Linked DNA regions of Homo sapiens: regions 1, 3, 4 and 5 are each linked to region 2. The links are contacts of gene promoters, found by promoter capture Hi-C in human tissues and cell types (Jung and others, 2019). All regions are on one chromosome and are shown on one strand. The core of a region is centred on a gene start or on the middle of the fragment in contact, and the rest is flanking DNA. Distances in the headings are between cores, read along the strand shown.

The links. Contacts are between HindIII fragments. The study calls those that stand out against the background at their distance.
Region 1: a contact is called between a fragment that was not itself captured here and the fragment with the promoter of ADM in region 2, in 1 of the 25 tissues and cell types used here (aorta).
Region 3: a contact is called between a fragment that was not itself captured here and the fragment with the promoter of ADM in region 2, in 3 of the 25 tissues and cell types used here (IMR-90 fibroblasts, dorsolateral prefrontal cortex and heart right ventricle).
Region 4: a contact is called between a fragment that was not itself captured here and the fragment with the promoter of ADM in region 2, in 1 of the 25 tissues and cell types used here (mesendoderm cells).
Region 5: a fragment that was not itself captured here is called in contact with the fragment with the promoter of ADM in region 2 in 1 of the 25 tissues and cell types used here (mesendoderm cells).

What each region holds. Positions count from the first base shown.
Region 1 is chr11:10,639,481-10,642,180 of GRCh38, forward strand. All of the region lies in intron 2 of IRAG1 (inositol 1,4,5-triphosphate receptor associated 1), which reads right to left. Among named protein-coding and RNA genes, the nearest start is that of IRAG1, 53 kb to the right of the region's middle. RefSeq lists enhancers at 2,454-2,503, 2,524-2,700. The HindIII fragment of the contact is 8,261 bases long and covers 1-2,700 here.
Region 2 is chr11:10,303,748-10,306,447 of GRCh38, forward strand. ADM (adrenomedullin) reads left to right here and starts at 1,326. Exons shown (of 4, transcript NM_001124.3): 1 at 1,326-1,482; 2 at 1,933-2,051; 3 at 2,202-2,351; 4 at 2,585-2,700. The coding sequence starts at 1,954. It also overlaps a transcript of SBF2 not described here. RefSeq lists silencers at 238-297, 788-887, 1,068-1,117, 1,798-1,847, 1,868-1,917. The HindIII fragment of the contact is 6,042 bases long and covers 1-2,700 here.
Region 3 is chr11:9,940,375-9,943,074 of GRCh38, forward strand. All of the region lies in intron 16 of SBF2 (SET binding factor 2), which reads right to left. Among named protein-coding and RNA genes, the nearest start is that of LINC02709, 180 kb to the left of the region's middle. The HindIII fragment of the contact is 8,904 bases long and covers 1-2,700 here.
Region 4 is chr11:9,918,821-9,921,520 of GRCh38, forward strand. All of the region lies in intron 16 of SBF2 (SET binding factor 2), which reads right to left. The region is part of intron 2 of LOC101928008 (a long non-coding RNA gene); the gene reads left to right. Among named protein-coding and RNA genes, the nearest start is that of LINC02709, 160 kb to the left of the region's middle. The HindIII fragment of the contact is 5,937 bases long and covers 1-2,700 here.
Region 5 is chr11:10,703,957-10,706,656 of GRCh38, forward strand. No RefSeq gene overlaps it. Among named protein-coding and RNA genes, the nearest start is that of IRAG1, 12 kb to the left of the region's middle. The HindIII fragment of the contact is 4,896 bases long and covers 1-2,700 here.

The DNA.
Region 1 (2,700 bases), core at 127-2,626, 340 kb after region 2:
ACGGAACTGTTCAACAGAAAGAAAACCAGCATAGAAGGAACTTCATTCTTTACTCTCACCTCTCAAAGAACATGAAAGGGGAACAAATCTTCACTCCCATCCTGACCTCTCCTCTGCCCTTTTCTCTTTCCTTAACGATTCTCACGCCCCCTCTCTGATGACTCTTCCCCTGCTTGCCTCCCTGCCCAGATCCTCTGTCTACCTTCTTTCTCTTTTTCTCCTGCTCCAGCCTTTACTCCCCCAGCTCCATCCAGTTATTTTTTGTGCAGATTGTCTTCATTTGTTTGTATGATTGACTCACAAACATTTACTGAAGAGTCTTACAGAGCAAAGACCTTCTTGGAGAAGAGAGGGGCACTGGGCTGGCAATGATCAGATTCTGTTTGGCGTCCAAGAAAGGGATGTGGTCTGTGAACACTCCCACATTATTGGACCTTATTCTGTCCAATCATCCGGCAAACATTTATTGAATGCCTATTGTGGCCAGGGTCTATGCTAAGGTCTGGGAAGACAAAGGTGAACTGAGCGGGCCTCTGCAATGCTTCCCATTCATTAGCATGAAGGAATGGGGAGAGAAGGGGAAGTAACCTCCACTGCTATTACTAATAGTGCCCTCGGTGTTGATACCTACCAGGTAAATGGGTACAAGGCACGGGAGTGAGCTGCCTTCTGATAGGAGCTTTCTCTGCTTGCTGGCTAATGGTTACCTGAAGCAAAGCTCTCCTGACTGTAGGCATCTCACTGGGGAGGAGGACCATGGCAGAGGTGCCCATACAAAAAGGCAGAAACAAGCCATGGGTGGCAAGTGCCAAGCAGGTAACCGCAGACACTCACAATTCCAAGTGGCTTACAAAGCAGGAAGCATAAAGCGATTAGGAGGAAATCCTCTAATCCCTTGATGGAACATCCTGGAAGGTTCTTCACACTTGCCTTCTAATGTGTGCAAAATACACAACTCATAAAATCATAGTGTTCTTTCCCTCATCAGCTGACAGAATCGTTGAGCAAGCTCTGGGCAACTTCTCCTTTTCTGCAAAACTGTTTTGGTGGGAACATTCAGGTCTTGTGGGGGCTGTTTTTCACTCTATCAGGGACTGGGGAGACAGTAATCCAGGAGAGAGTGTGTGGGAAGATTCTAGGGGCCCTCTGGGGTGAATTCTGCCAGATTTTCATGCAGTGCACACACGCATCCCTGCTCCCATTCTGAGCTGTCAAACACAAGGCAGGCCTTCAAGAAAGCTTGGGAGAGCAGTAAGACCAAATAGCGTTGGCCAGACAACCTACTGGCTTAGGGGCTTCAGGGCCTCAGGCTCAGAAGCCACACTACCTTATGGTATACTTTTTAGCTGGATAACCTTGGGCAAGTTACCTTGCCTCTCTGTGCCTCAGTTACCTAATCTATAATGGAACTATCTCACAGGGTAGTTATAAGAATTAAACAAGTTGATATAGAAATAGGATTTCTGGATAAAGCACAGGATGCCCCAGTTATATTTGAATTTCAAATGTACAACAGATAATTTTTAGTATGTGTGTCTCAAATATTCCATGGACATAACTGTATTCTCTCTCTCTCTCTCGACTGAATCTTGCTATGTGCCCAGGCTGGTCTCAAATTTCTGGGCTCAGGTGATCCTCTCACCTGAGTAGCTGGGACTGCAGGTGTGAGCCACCATGTACAGCATATAATCATATTTTCATTTTCCAAATCTGGCAGCCCTAGATGGCAAGCCTGTGGAAGTGCACCTAGCACTGAGCAAATGCTCACTAAGCATTAGATGTTATGTTCCCTTATTATTCCCTTCGGGATTGAATTAATGACTTTGGCATTTGGTTTTGAAAAGATGGTTGCTCTTAGTTCTGGGTCTCCTCAACCATCTGGAGTTAAATTGGGAGAGCCCAGCCACTGTGGTCACGGCGCAATGGAGCATCTCTCCTGGGGCATCTGACCACATAAGCCCAAGTGATCAAGGACCCACCACCAAGGCCACCTTCACCCGGCTCCACTCCCTCTCACCCTCTGCCTCTCAAACCAATCAATGCCCTTTGTGGGTTACAGACATGGAAGCACAGAAACAAACATGGCTAGAGGGAATTGGCAGTTACTCAGGCCCACTGTGTGGTGGGCCCTGTCCCAGACCCCCCTCGTGTTTTCTCACCGAATCCTCCCAGAAACTCAGTGGGTAAACCTGAGGACACCACCTACAAATTGGGGGTGATAATGCCTCCCAAACTCATAGAATTGTGAAGAGGAAACGAGAAGATGAAAGTGAAGGCCATGAGCATGGGGTAGAAGATTGATATCTTTCTTTTTTCTCTTCTGCTTTTCTATTTTGATCTCCACTTTATCAATGCAAAAACTGACTTGTCCAGGGCTGTGCCGCTTGTAAATAGGGGAAGTGACTGAACACAGGCTGTGTCCTTCCCACGACACCACGCTACTCTTAAAGCTGCATCCCCAGTTTTTGGTCTCACCTCCCCTGGTTCCTGGTGCCCTGCTGGCCTCTGACACTCTTATTCTTCCAAGCTGCACTCTCCTTCACAGAAGGTACCTCTTCCTCCAGGAAGCCCTCAAACCAGCACAAGGCTGAACACACAGCTGGAGAAAAGGACAGCATGGGCAGAGGATGCCCTTGGCTCACTGCCCTTCTCACTCCTCCATGGGCCCAGCCTCCCTGGGGGTCCATTTCCCTTCCCTGG
Region 2 (2,700 bases), core at 76-2,575:
GGTTAGTAGGACCCCAGAAACCCACAAGCACGAAGCAGGAAGCCCCGTGGCTTAGCCTTTCCTTCCCAGTTTGGCCCCCAGGAGAGAAGTAAGAAAGAGAAGAAGCTGTGATGAAAGAGCACAAACGGGTGACAAACGTGTCTAGCGTGATTCATCATGAACAGGCACAAATTCTTTGGGCGGGGGCTAGGACTCTCCTTTGCCCCTTGAGAAGTTGGTGACCCCAGCCTAGAGGAATCCACGCCGCGCCCCAGTCGGCCGTGCTAGCGTGTCGGGCCGAGTAGGGACTCTGCTGCTTCCTACCTGCAGGGTGACTTCCCCTCTCTGCAGATACCTCCCCTCTCTGAGCTTGAATTTTCTACCTGCTGAAATGGGAAAAGGAATGTTACCTTCCTTGCCTGACTCAAGGGTGGCTGTGAAGCTCAAAGTAGACTGGGATGTGGCCGTGCTTGGTAAACTGTAAAATGATTAGCATACGTGAAGCGTTAGTGTGCTCCCTGGCAGTCAGTCCTCACGTTTACGATGGATTAATGAAGGCAGCCAGGCACAATCTCAGGTTATGACCTTATAAGGCATAATAGGATTACAAGGAGGCAAAATGAAACAGTATATTTCCTCCTAATTTTGGTTATTCCTATGTTTCCAAATAGAAATGAAAATTCTGAAATTTCAGATAATTCCCCCCTCCAAATCCCAATTCTCAATTTAGCTTTTCTGAGCCTTGTCCCTACCGTGAAATCTTACTAGCTCACCCCGAAACGCCGGGGTCTTGGTCCTCTGGGGGACTAGTGAGTCCTGCTCCTCTCGGCTTTGCTCCGTCCCTGCCCCGGCCCCTCCGCGGGAGTCTGGGGTCGCGGCCCGGTCAGGCGCCAAGCCGGCAGGGGGGCGCGGTCCACTTGAGGCCACAGCTCCCCAGGTCCAGGGCTCGGGCCATCCGCGCTGTCCCTTCCGCGGGCTCTTGCTGTTCTTCGCCAGGAGGCTTTGCACTCCGGGCCGCATGGGTCCTGGATAAGGACCTCAAGAGGTTGTAGTGGCGCCCCTTCGCTCCGGCGTACTGTCTGAACCCTGTGCCCAAAGAGGGCTGTGGCAGTTCCTGCACCAACCGCCTGGAGCCCATACCTAAGCCCTCTGGGCACGAGGGACCTCCTCTCCCCCGCTCCCCCCTCCCCCCATCCCAACTCCAGCCCCAAAGGAAGCAATGCGCGCGTCCGAGAGCAGGAGCGCGCGTGGCTGAGGAAAGAAAGGGAAGGCAACCGGGCAGCCCAGGCCCCGCCCCGCCGCTCCCCCACCCGTGCGCTTATAAAGCACAGGAACCAGAGCTGGCCACTCAGTGGTTTCTTGGTGACACTGGATAGAACAGCTCAAGCCTTGCCACTTCGGGCTTCTCACTGCAGCTGGGCTTGGACTTCGGAGTTTTGCCATTGCCAGTGGGACGTCTGAGACTTTCTCCTTCAAGTACTTGGCAGATCACTCTCTTAGCAGGTAGGTGCCGCAGACCCTGCGGGTTAAGAGGTGGGGTGGGGGGCAGTGCTTGCCAAGGCCCTAAACTGGGAGCGCTGGGTGAGGGGAACAACCCACTTTGGAGGGTTCTCTGAGAGATAGATACACCCCATATCCTGGGCCCAGCTCGTGCACACAGCTGGAGGTCCAGAGACCCAGTCCCCTCTGCTCCGTCAGCCAAGTTCCAAGAAGTTGAGCAGAGACCCTCTGGGAGCCTGGCGGGGTGCAGCGGCCTCCCCTGCGGGGCCTGTCACCCGGCCGGCGCGTGCAAACGCCTCTGGCGCCTCTCTGCGCGGAGGGAGATAAGCGTCTGAGCCAGGGAAAGCGCGGGCTAAACCCGCCTCGCCGGGGCCCCTGCCCGCCCTCCGTGCCCCGCCCGGGCGGTGCAGCTGGCCCGGGTGCTCACGCTCGACTCTCTTTCTTCTTTTCCAGGGTCTGCGCTTCGCAGCCGGGATGAAGCTGGTTTCCGTCGCCCTGATGTACCTGGGTTCGCTCGCCTTCCTAGGCGCTGACACCGCTCGGTTGGATGTCGCGTCGGAGTTTCGAAAGAAGTGAGTCCGGGCAGCGCCTTCCCCCTTGCTGGTACCTGGCAGGCAAGGGGAACTGACCGTTGGTCCCGAAGGTCTAGAAGTGAATGGGAGCAGGGACAGGCCTGGGCGTCACCTGAACGCACGCGAATCGGGTCTGCTTGTGTTTTCCAGGTGGAATAAGTGGGCTCTGAGTCGTGGGAAGAGGGAACTGCGGATGTCCAGCAGCTACCCCACCGGGCTCGCTGACGTGAAGGCCGGGCCTGCCCAGACCCTTATTCGGCCCCAGGACATGAAGGGTGCCTCTCGAAGCCCCGAAGACAGGTAACTACGCCCTGTGCTGTCCAGGGACGGGAGGGAAGGAAGGTGTGCGGGAGGAGTTCTCTGTCTCCACTCCCCTGGCCCGGGGGATCGTCGGGGCTGGACCGCAGCTCAGATGGCGCGAGCAGTTTCCAGCTCCCTCTGGCTCTAGAATGGCTCCCGTTCCCGGTGTTGGGGCCAAAGCTCTGCTTGATGGGGTCTCAAGTTGCCTTTCTTCCCCCTCCCCCCGCCCGCAGCAGTCCGGATGCCGCCCGCATCCGAGTCAAGCGCTACCGCCAGAGCATGAACAACTTCCAGGGCCTCCGGAGCTTTGGCTGCCGCTTCGGGACGTGCACGGTGCAGAAGCTGGCAC
Region 3 (2,700 bases), core at 41-2,540, 360 kb before region 2:
AGCCTGGGCAACACAGCGAGACTCTGCCTCAAAAAAAAATTTTTTTTAAAGTACATACTATGCTAAAAGATAGAAATGGTGGTGGTGCAGCCAGTCTAATACCAAAGTCTGAGCAGCTGTGTAGTACCCAACAGGAGCACGTATACCATTAGTAAGCAGTTGTAGTTATTTTTAAATGAAATAAAAATATTACTATTTTTGAAAAAATTTAAGTGTATATTTTTTCCCAAATAGCTATTAAGTTGTAGGAATATAATACACATTACTTGGCCTGAAAGATTTACTAAATGAAGCTGTCAGGTATTTGGTTTGGCCCAGGGGGCACCAAGAAAATATTGCTGAGATACTAAGGACTCATTGTGAACTCAGAAAATTTGGGAACCTCTTAAACCTGCAGCCCAAGAAGTAAAAAATAATAGAACAAGTGAAAAACTTAGATGAATGGAAATAATAAAGATAGAAAAGAAATTAATTAGACAGAAAGCAAAGATACAAAGGCAAAGAGTTTATAGACTAATAAAATGGACAAAACTAATTTTAAAAAAGAAAAAAGCCACTAATCAGTAGACATGTTCTTAGGAAATAATTACCAAAATGAACTCAAGAAAAGCTGAAAACCTGAAGAGACTATAATTAGAAATTAAAAATATTCTCCCAAAGGCTGGATGTGGTGGCTCATGCCTGTAATCCCAGCACTTTGGGAGGCCAAGGTGGGAGAGTTGCTTGAGAGTTCAAAACCAGCCTGAGCAATAAAGCGAGACCCTGTCTCTACAAAAAAATAAAAAAATAAATTAGCTGTGCATGGTGGCGCATGCCTGTGGTCCCAGCTACACAGGAGAGTGAGGTGGGAGGATCACTTGAGCCCATAAGTTTGAGGCTGCAGTAAGCTATGATTCCCACCCCTGCGTGCCAGCCCCAGCCTGGGCAATGGAGCAAGACCCTGTCTCTTCAGTAAAAATAAAAAAAAAAAAATTATCCCAAAGAAAACATTAGGTTAAGGTGGCTTTACTGGTGAGTTTTAACAAACTTTCAAGGAACACACGATTTCACTCTAACATAAAGTGTTTCAGAGAAGAGATACAGAGGAATACTCCCTATTTCATTTTTTGACGTTAGTATAACTTAGCTCCAATACCAGCCAAGGAGTATTTGAGAAATTATAAACTGATTTCAATCATAAAAATAATTGCACATTAAGAATGAGATAGAGCTGTACAAAAAGCATTTCATAAAACTGACACCTATTATGACAAAAACTCTTAAACCAGGAATGGAAATGGACTTAATAACCTGATAGCAAATATCTACCAAAACTTCTAGCACAGATAAAGCTTAATGATTAAACTTTAAAAGAAAGGCACTTACTGTCACTTCTATTTAATGTTATACTATAGGTCCTTGCCAGAAAATAAGAAAGAAAAAAAATATATATATAACGTTTAGAAAGTGAGGTAAAAACCATTCCTATTACTGGATGATATGATTGCCAACATAGAAAACAGAAAAGAATATGTGGCAAATTACTAAAATTAAGGAAGTTTGCAATATTAATAGATAAGTTTACTGTATTTCTATATATTTTAAAAAAAGCAATTAGAAAATGCAATTTTAAAAGACAGCATTTACAGTAACAACAACAAAACAGGGCACCTAACAATAAATTTAACAAAATATGTATGAGACCTTCATGGAGAAAAATCATACATGTATTTTTTGAGGCAGGGTCTCGTACTGTCACCTGGGCTGGAGTGCGGTGGCACAATCACGGCTCACTGCACCCTCGAGTGGGCTCAAGTGATTCTCCCATCTCAGCCTCTCATGTAGCTGGGGCTACAGGTGTGTGCTACCATGGCTGGCTGATTTTTGTATTTTTTGTGAGACAGGGTTTCGCCATGTTGTCCAAGCTGGGCTCAAGCAATCTTCCTGCCTAGGCCTCCCAAGGTGCTGGGACTACAGGCATGAGCTACTGTGCCCAGCCCATACAGTGTTATGAAAGACATTAAAGATCTAGATGTACAATACTATGTTTATAGATACGAAAACTTGCAAAATGTCAATTCTTCCTACATTAATCTATGGATTCAATGTAATCTTAATTTAAGTTCCAGTAGAGGCTCTCATGGAAGTGAATAAGGTTATTCTAAAATGATATGGAAACACAAGGGGAAAGAATACAGAAGACATTTCTTAGGAAGATACAGCATGGGGGCTTGCCCTGGTAGATATTAAAATTTATTATAAAACTTTAATTAAGACTATGTGATGGGCAACATGGTAAAATCCTGTCTCTACTAAAAATACAAAAAATTAGCCAGGCATGGTGGCGTGCACCTGTAGACCCAGCTACCAGGGAGGTTGAGGTGAGAGGATCACCTGAGCCCAGGAGGCAGAGGCTACAGTGAGCCATGGTCACATCACTGCACTGAAGCCTGGGCGACAGAGTAAGAGAGTAAGACCCTGTCTCAAAAAAAACAAAGAAAGAAAGGAAGAAAGGAAGAAAGAAAGAAAAGAAAAGAAAGAGAGAGAGAGAAAGAAAGAAAGAAAGAAAGAAAGAAAGAAAGAAAGAAGGAAGGAACGAAGGAAGGAAAGAAGGAAAAAGAAAGAGGAAGAAAGAAAGAAAGAAAGAAAGAAAGAAAGAGAAAGAAAGATTGTGATGCTCTTACATAAATAGGCGAATGAACTGAATAGAAATCCTGAATG
Region 4 (2,700 bases), core at 93-2,592, 380 kb before region 2:
CTCTGCCTCCTGAGTTCACGCCATTCTCCTGCCTCAGCCTCCTGAGTAGCTGGGACTACAGGCGCCTGCCACCACGCCCGGCTAATTTTTTCTATTTTTTTTTAGTAGAGACGCGGTTTCACCGTGTTAGCCAGGATGGTCTTGATCTCCTGACTTTGTGATCCGCTCGCCTTGGCCTCCCAAAGTGCTGGGATTACAGGTGTGAGCCACTGCATCTGGCTTTTTTTATTTTTTAATCCTCTACTATCCAACTTTTAGGAAAAGAGCAGAAGTAAATGTATGGAGGTAAATTACCAGGATCCCAGAATTAGGTCATTCTTCAGTTCGTAATTCCTAGACATTTCTTTATACCACTATTGTTAGAATATTTTAATCTCTTTTCCCTCACATTCTCTAGCTGATTTTCCATCAAGATTTGAAATAGCCTCTCCTTTCTTCTTCTTCTTCTTCTTTTTTTTTTTTGAGATAGAGTTTTGCTCTTGTTGCCCAGGCTGGAGTGCAATGGCACCATCTTGGCTTGTAGTAGGACGAGCCACAGACAAAACTCCTCAGACTCCGAGTTAAAGAAGGAAGGGGTTTATTCGGCTGGGGGCATCGGCAAGACTCCTGTCTCAAAAGCCGAGCTCCCCGAGTGAGCAATTTCTGTCCCTTTTAAGGGCTCACAACTCTAAGGGGGTGTGCGTGAGAGGGTCGTGATCGATTGAGCAAGCAGGGGGTACGTGACTGGGGGCTGCATGCACCGGTAATTAGGTCGTAACAAAACAGGATAGGGATTTTCACAGTGCTTTTCTATACAATGTCTGGAATCTATAGATAACATAACCAATTAGGTCAGGGGTCCATCTTTAACTACCAGGTCCAGGGTGTGGCCCCGGGCTGTCTGCTTGTGGATTTCATTTCTGCCTTTTAGTTTTTACTTTTTCTTTCTTTGGAGGCAGAAATTGGGCATAAGACAATATGAGGGGTGGTCTCCTCCCTTAGGCTCACTACAACCTCCACCTCCCAGGTTCAAGTAATTCTCCTGCCTCAGCCTCTCAAGAAGCTGAGATTACAGGCATGTGCCACCATGCCCGGCTAATTTTGTATTTTTAGTAGAGACAGGGGTTTCTCCATGTTGGTCAGGCTGGTCTGGAACTCCTGACCTCAGGTGATCCGCCTGCCTGGGCCTCCTAAAGTGCTGGGATTACAGGTGTGAGCCACCATGCCCGGCCTCTTCTTTTTTAAAAAAAACTTACTTATTTCTTATCTTATATATACCTCTAGTCCAAAGAAATAGAAATAAGACTCAGTAAGTTGCCAGGTATACTGGGAGAGTACAGCAACTACATATAACTCATAAGGCTCAAAACTGCAAATACTATATGTGTGTGTGTGTGTGTGTGTGTATATATATATATATACACACACATATATGTATATCATATATGTATATTTATTTACTTATTTTTGGCATGGAAAAACAGGCAGAATTGGGAAGGGGGAAGAATTTACTCTAAGTTGTATAACTGAGCTTTGGCAGGGAGATAGGGAGGCAAGAGTCAGGCCAAGTTCCTGATACAGAGAAGCTACCAGCTTTGTGTGTAGTTTATGAGACCTGATCTAGATATTCTAGGCACCAGTGCAAGAAGTATATACTATTAATTACCACACATATGGATTAGCATATGCCTACATAAAACCTAGTCTGTCTTTCAGAACATATACTTAAAGGAATTTTATAATTAGGTTGCAGATCATTAGACTCTCTGCTTATTGAGTTATAAAGTATCTTCTTTCACATGTGAGAAGAGACATTAATCTAAAATTTCTTTATGATTTTATCTAAGATTTCAGTGCTGTGTGGAAAAAGTAGCCCTTCAAAGTACTGGTTTTAAAATACTAGCTGCAGAAGGAGGCCAATTTCCCGAAACAAAAGTGAGTGGATATTAAATTGCAATGTGGACACCATGCCCTGTACCGTTATTTCAGAATGTCCAGGCACGAGGACAGTGATACCCTAGTCAGGGAAGCATGACATGGAGAGAGACCACGTCTTTCTAATGCCCTGGTGTTCTGTCAGGGTTCCACAACCTACCCTTAAGGGTTCCTCCTACCCTTAATTTTCCCATTCATTGCATACTTTGCCCTACTTCTTTCTTTCTCTTTTCCAGTTTACTTCTCTTCCCTTCTCAGCCTACTGCCTATAGTAATAGTTTTCAAAATGTGGTCCCTGGATGATATGCATCAGTATGACCTGAAAACTTCTTTTTTTTTTTTTTTTTTTTTTGGAGCTGGAGTTTTGCTCTTGTTGCCCAGGCTGGAGTACAATGGCTTGATCTCAGCTCACTGCAACTTCCACCTCTCGGGTTCAAGCGATTCTCCTGCCTCAGCCTCCCAAGTAGATGGGATTACAGGCATACGCCACCATGCCCGGCTAATTTTGTATTTTCAGTAGAGATGGGGTTTCTCCATGTTGGTCAGGTTGGTCTCCTACTCCCGACCTCAGGTTATCCGCCCGCCTGGGCCTCCCAAAGTGCTGGGATTACGGGCTTCAGCCACCGCGTCCAGCCAGAACTTGTTAAATATACAAATTCCTGGGCTCCATCCTAGTTTCTACTTAATCAGAAACTCTGGGTGTGGCCACAGCGACCTGTGTTTTAACATGCTGTCTAGTTATTCTAATGCTCGCTAAACTTTGAGAATCACTGCCTTATAGTGTAC
Region 5 (2,700 bases), core at 13-2,512, 400 kb after region 2:
GCTGGGCGTGGTGGCTCACGCCTGTAATCTCAGCACTTTAGAAGGCCAAGGAGGGAGGAATACTTGAAGCCAGGAGTTCGAGACCAGCCTGGCCAACATGGCAAAACCCCATCTCTACTGAAAATACAAAAATTAGCCAGGCATGGTGGCGAGCACCTATAATCCCAGCTACTCAGGAGGCTGAAGTGGGAGAATGGCTTGAACCCAGGAGGCAGAGGTGGCAGTGAGTTAAGATCATGGCACTGCACTCCCGTCTGGAAAACAGAGAGAGACTCCATCTCAAAAAAAGAAAAAGAGTAAAAAAAGACACTGTTAAAGGGGTTCCCTCTAGCAGCAGAACTTGGGGTAGGAAACCAGGACTTTTTGTTACAAGGCTTTCTCTTCTGATTCTTTTAAAAAGCAATGTGGAGGTATTGCTTTTATTTAAAAATTATTTTAAAAATAAAAAAAATTAAAATAAGTGCCTAGGTGTTCTTTCCATTAGAAGGAGGCCCTGAGGTAGGCTGGTGGGGAGAAAGAGGGAGCAAAAGGGTCTTGGCATCCTGACTGGAGGGAACAGCTACTGGAAACATTGTCATCTACTTTCTGCATTCTGCCCCAAGAGCATGACTTACCCATTCATTCCACAGATATGCACTATGTACATACCTTGTGCCTAGGCCTCTGCTAGGCAGGGAGGCTCAGAGGTGGGCAAGATATGGCTCCTGCCCTCCAGGAGGTGATAGTATAAGACTTCAACAAGTCAGTAACATCCATAATACAAGCTATGTGAAAGTGGTGTGCAAGCTCTGTTGTTGTGCTTACATGAGGTGTTGTTAGTAGAACTATTCTATAAGGAAGAACACAGTCAGTACCATGGATGGGCAGTAGTTAGGGATCACTGAGCTTGAACCAAGTGCTGCAGGAGCTCCGAGGAAGAAGTGGAGCATTGGGAAGATTTGCTTTCTAGTTGACATTTGAGGCAGTTATTAAGTCCAAACAGGTCAAGGTTTCAAAGGATGGAGAGTGGGTCAGGGAGGGTCTTCTTCCCAGGTAAAGAAGTAGTACATGCCTAGGTATGGCGAAGTGTTCAGGAATGCAGTAGTAGGGGTTCTGTTTTGGGGCTGGCTGAGTAGGTCAGATAATGAAGGAGCCTTAAACCCCAGGCTTGGGAGTTTGAACTTACTTTTATGTGGGCTGGGAGCCCCAGGAAGTTTCTAAGCCGAGAAAGTGTCTGATATGAGCTGGGCTTTGAGAAGATTGCTCTAGGGCAGGGGACAAGTCAAGGGATTATTGTAAAATGCCATGGAAAGAAAGTGGACTTTGGAGCCAGACAGACTCCAGGGAACTATGGAAAAATTAATTAACCTCTCCAAGGTCAGTTTCCTCATCTTCAAAATCAGTAACACTGGGGATTGCCTTCAAGAAAGTTGGCAACTGTTATGGCCGGGGTACTAGCCACTAAGTATGGGTAACAGTGACTGTCCTGCTAGAGCTGGGTCCTGGAAGTCCCCAGCAGTACCAGGCATCAATCCTTCAGTTGCCAAACTATGACAAGGTCCAGGTAATCCTAGGGAAGGGGCCAGGGTGACTGGGGTGATAGGGAGAGGTCTCAGGGCAGCAGCAATATGCAACTGGCAGGGAAGTACCTTAATATTTGAACAATTCATAGCCATGGTGGGGTGGATGGGCTGAACATTAGCCTGGGCGCTCCTGAAATACCCCATAAAGATGTGGCCCTCAGGAAATAAAAGGATATCCAGGATGACCAGTTGAGCAACTGATGTAAAGTAAAATCATTTATTGAGATGAGAAAGCCTGGGAGGAGCGAGCCGGGGACACAGGAGTAATGGACTCAGAGTATTATTTTGGACATGTTAAGTTTGGTTGACTGTGAAACATCCAAGTAGAGATGACACTTGGACAGTTGAACATGTGAAGCTCCACAGAGAAGTGGGAACAACAGTGATGAGGTGGGCAGATGAGAGAGAGACTCAAGAAACTTGTGCCCTAACTGCTTGTGGGAAATGGGAAGAACAGAGTGAGTGACTCCAAAGTTTTGATCTCTGGACAGGTAGAGAGAAGTTAATGCCCTGAGGAAGCCAGGAGCAGGAGTGCATTGGTTAAGGATGATATGAGTTCAGTTTGAAATGCTGGTGGGAGGCCCAGATGGAGAGGCCCAGCAAATGGTTAGAAATGCAGAGTGACAAGGATTGTGGCTTAAGAGAGGTGCAGACTGGTGACATCGAATTCAGAAGTATGGACTTCTAGGAGAGCTTTCAGTCACAGGCCTTTGTAAACTGATTAGGGTGGGTGTAAGAGAAAAGAGAGCTAAGGGAAGAAAGTCAGAAAGACAGAGAAAGAGAGAGAGAGAGGACATAATAAAGGCTTGGAAAGAGAGAAAGGGGAAAATCAACACAGAGGACCAAAAAATGAGGAGCCAGTAAAAAACTGGCAAGAGACAGGAAGTTGCTGTCAGTACATGGAAAAGAGGAGGAGGTGGCCTGTAGAGTACTGCAGGGAGCCCAGGAGATGAGGATTGCAAACAAGCTATCAGACCTTAGAAAGCCTTGTCAGTAGACCGGTGGGTTTCGTGAGGTCATGGAGGTGAAGGCTGTGAGGGTCACTTCATCATTCGCTGAGCAACCATGGACTGTCATATATGTAAGATGAACTGTGATACCAGGGAGACCTAGAAGTCCCGAAATGAGGTGGAAGCCA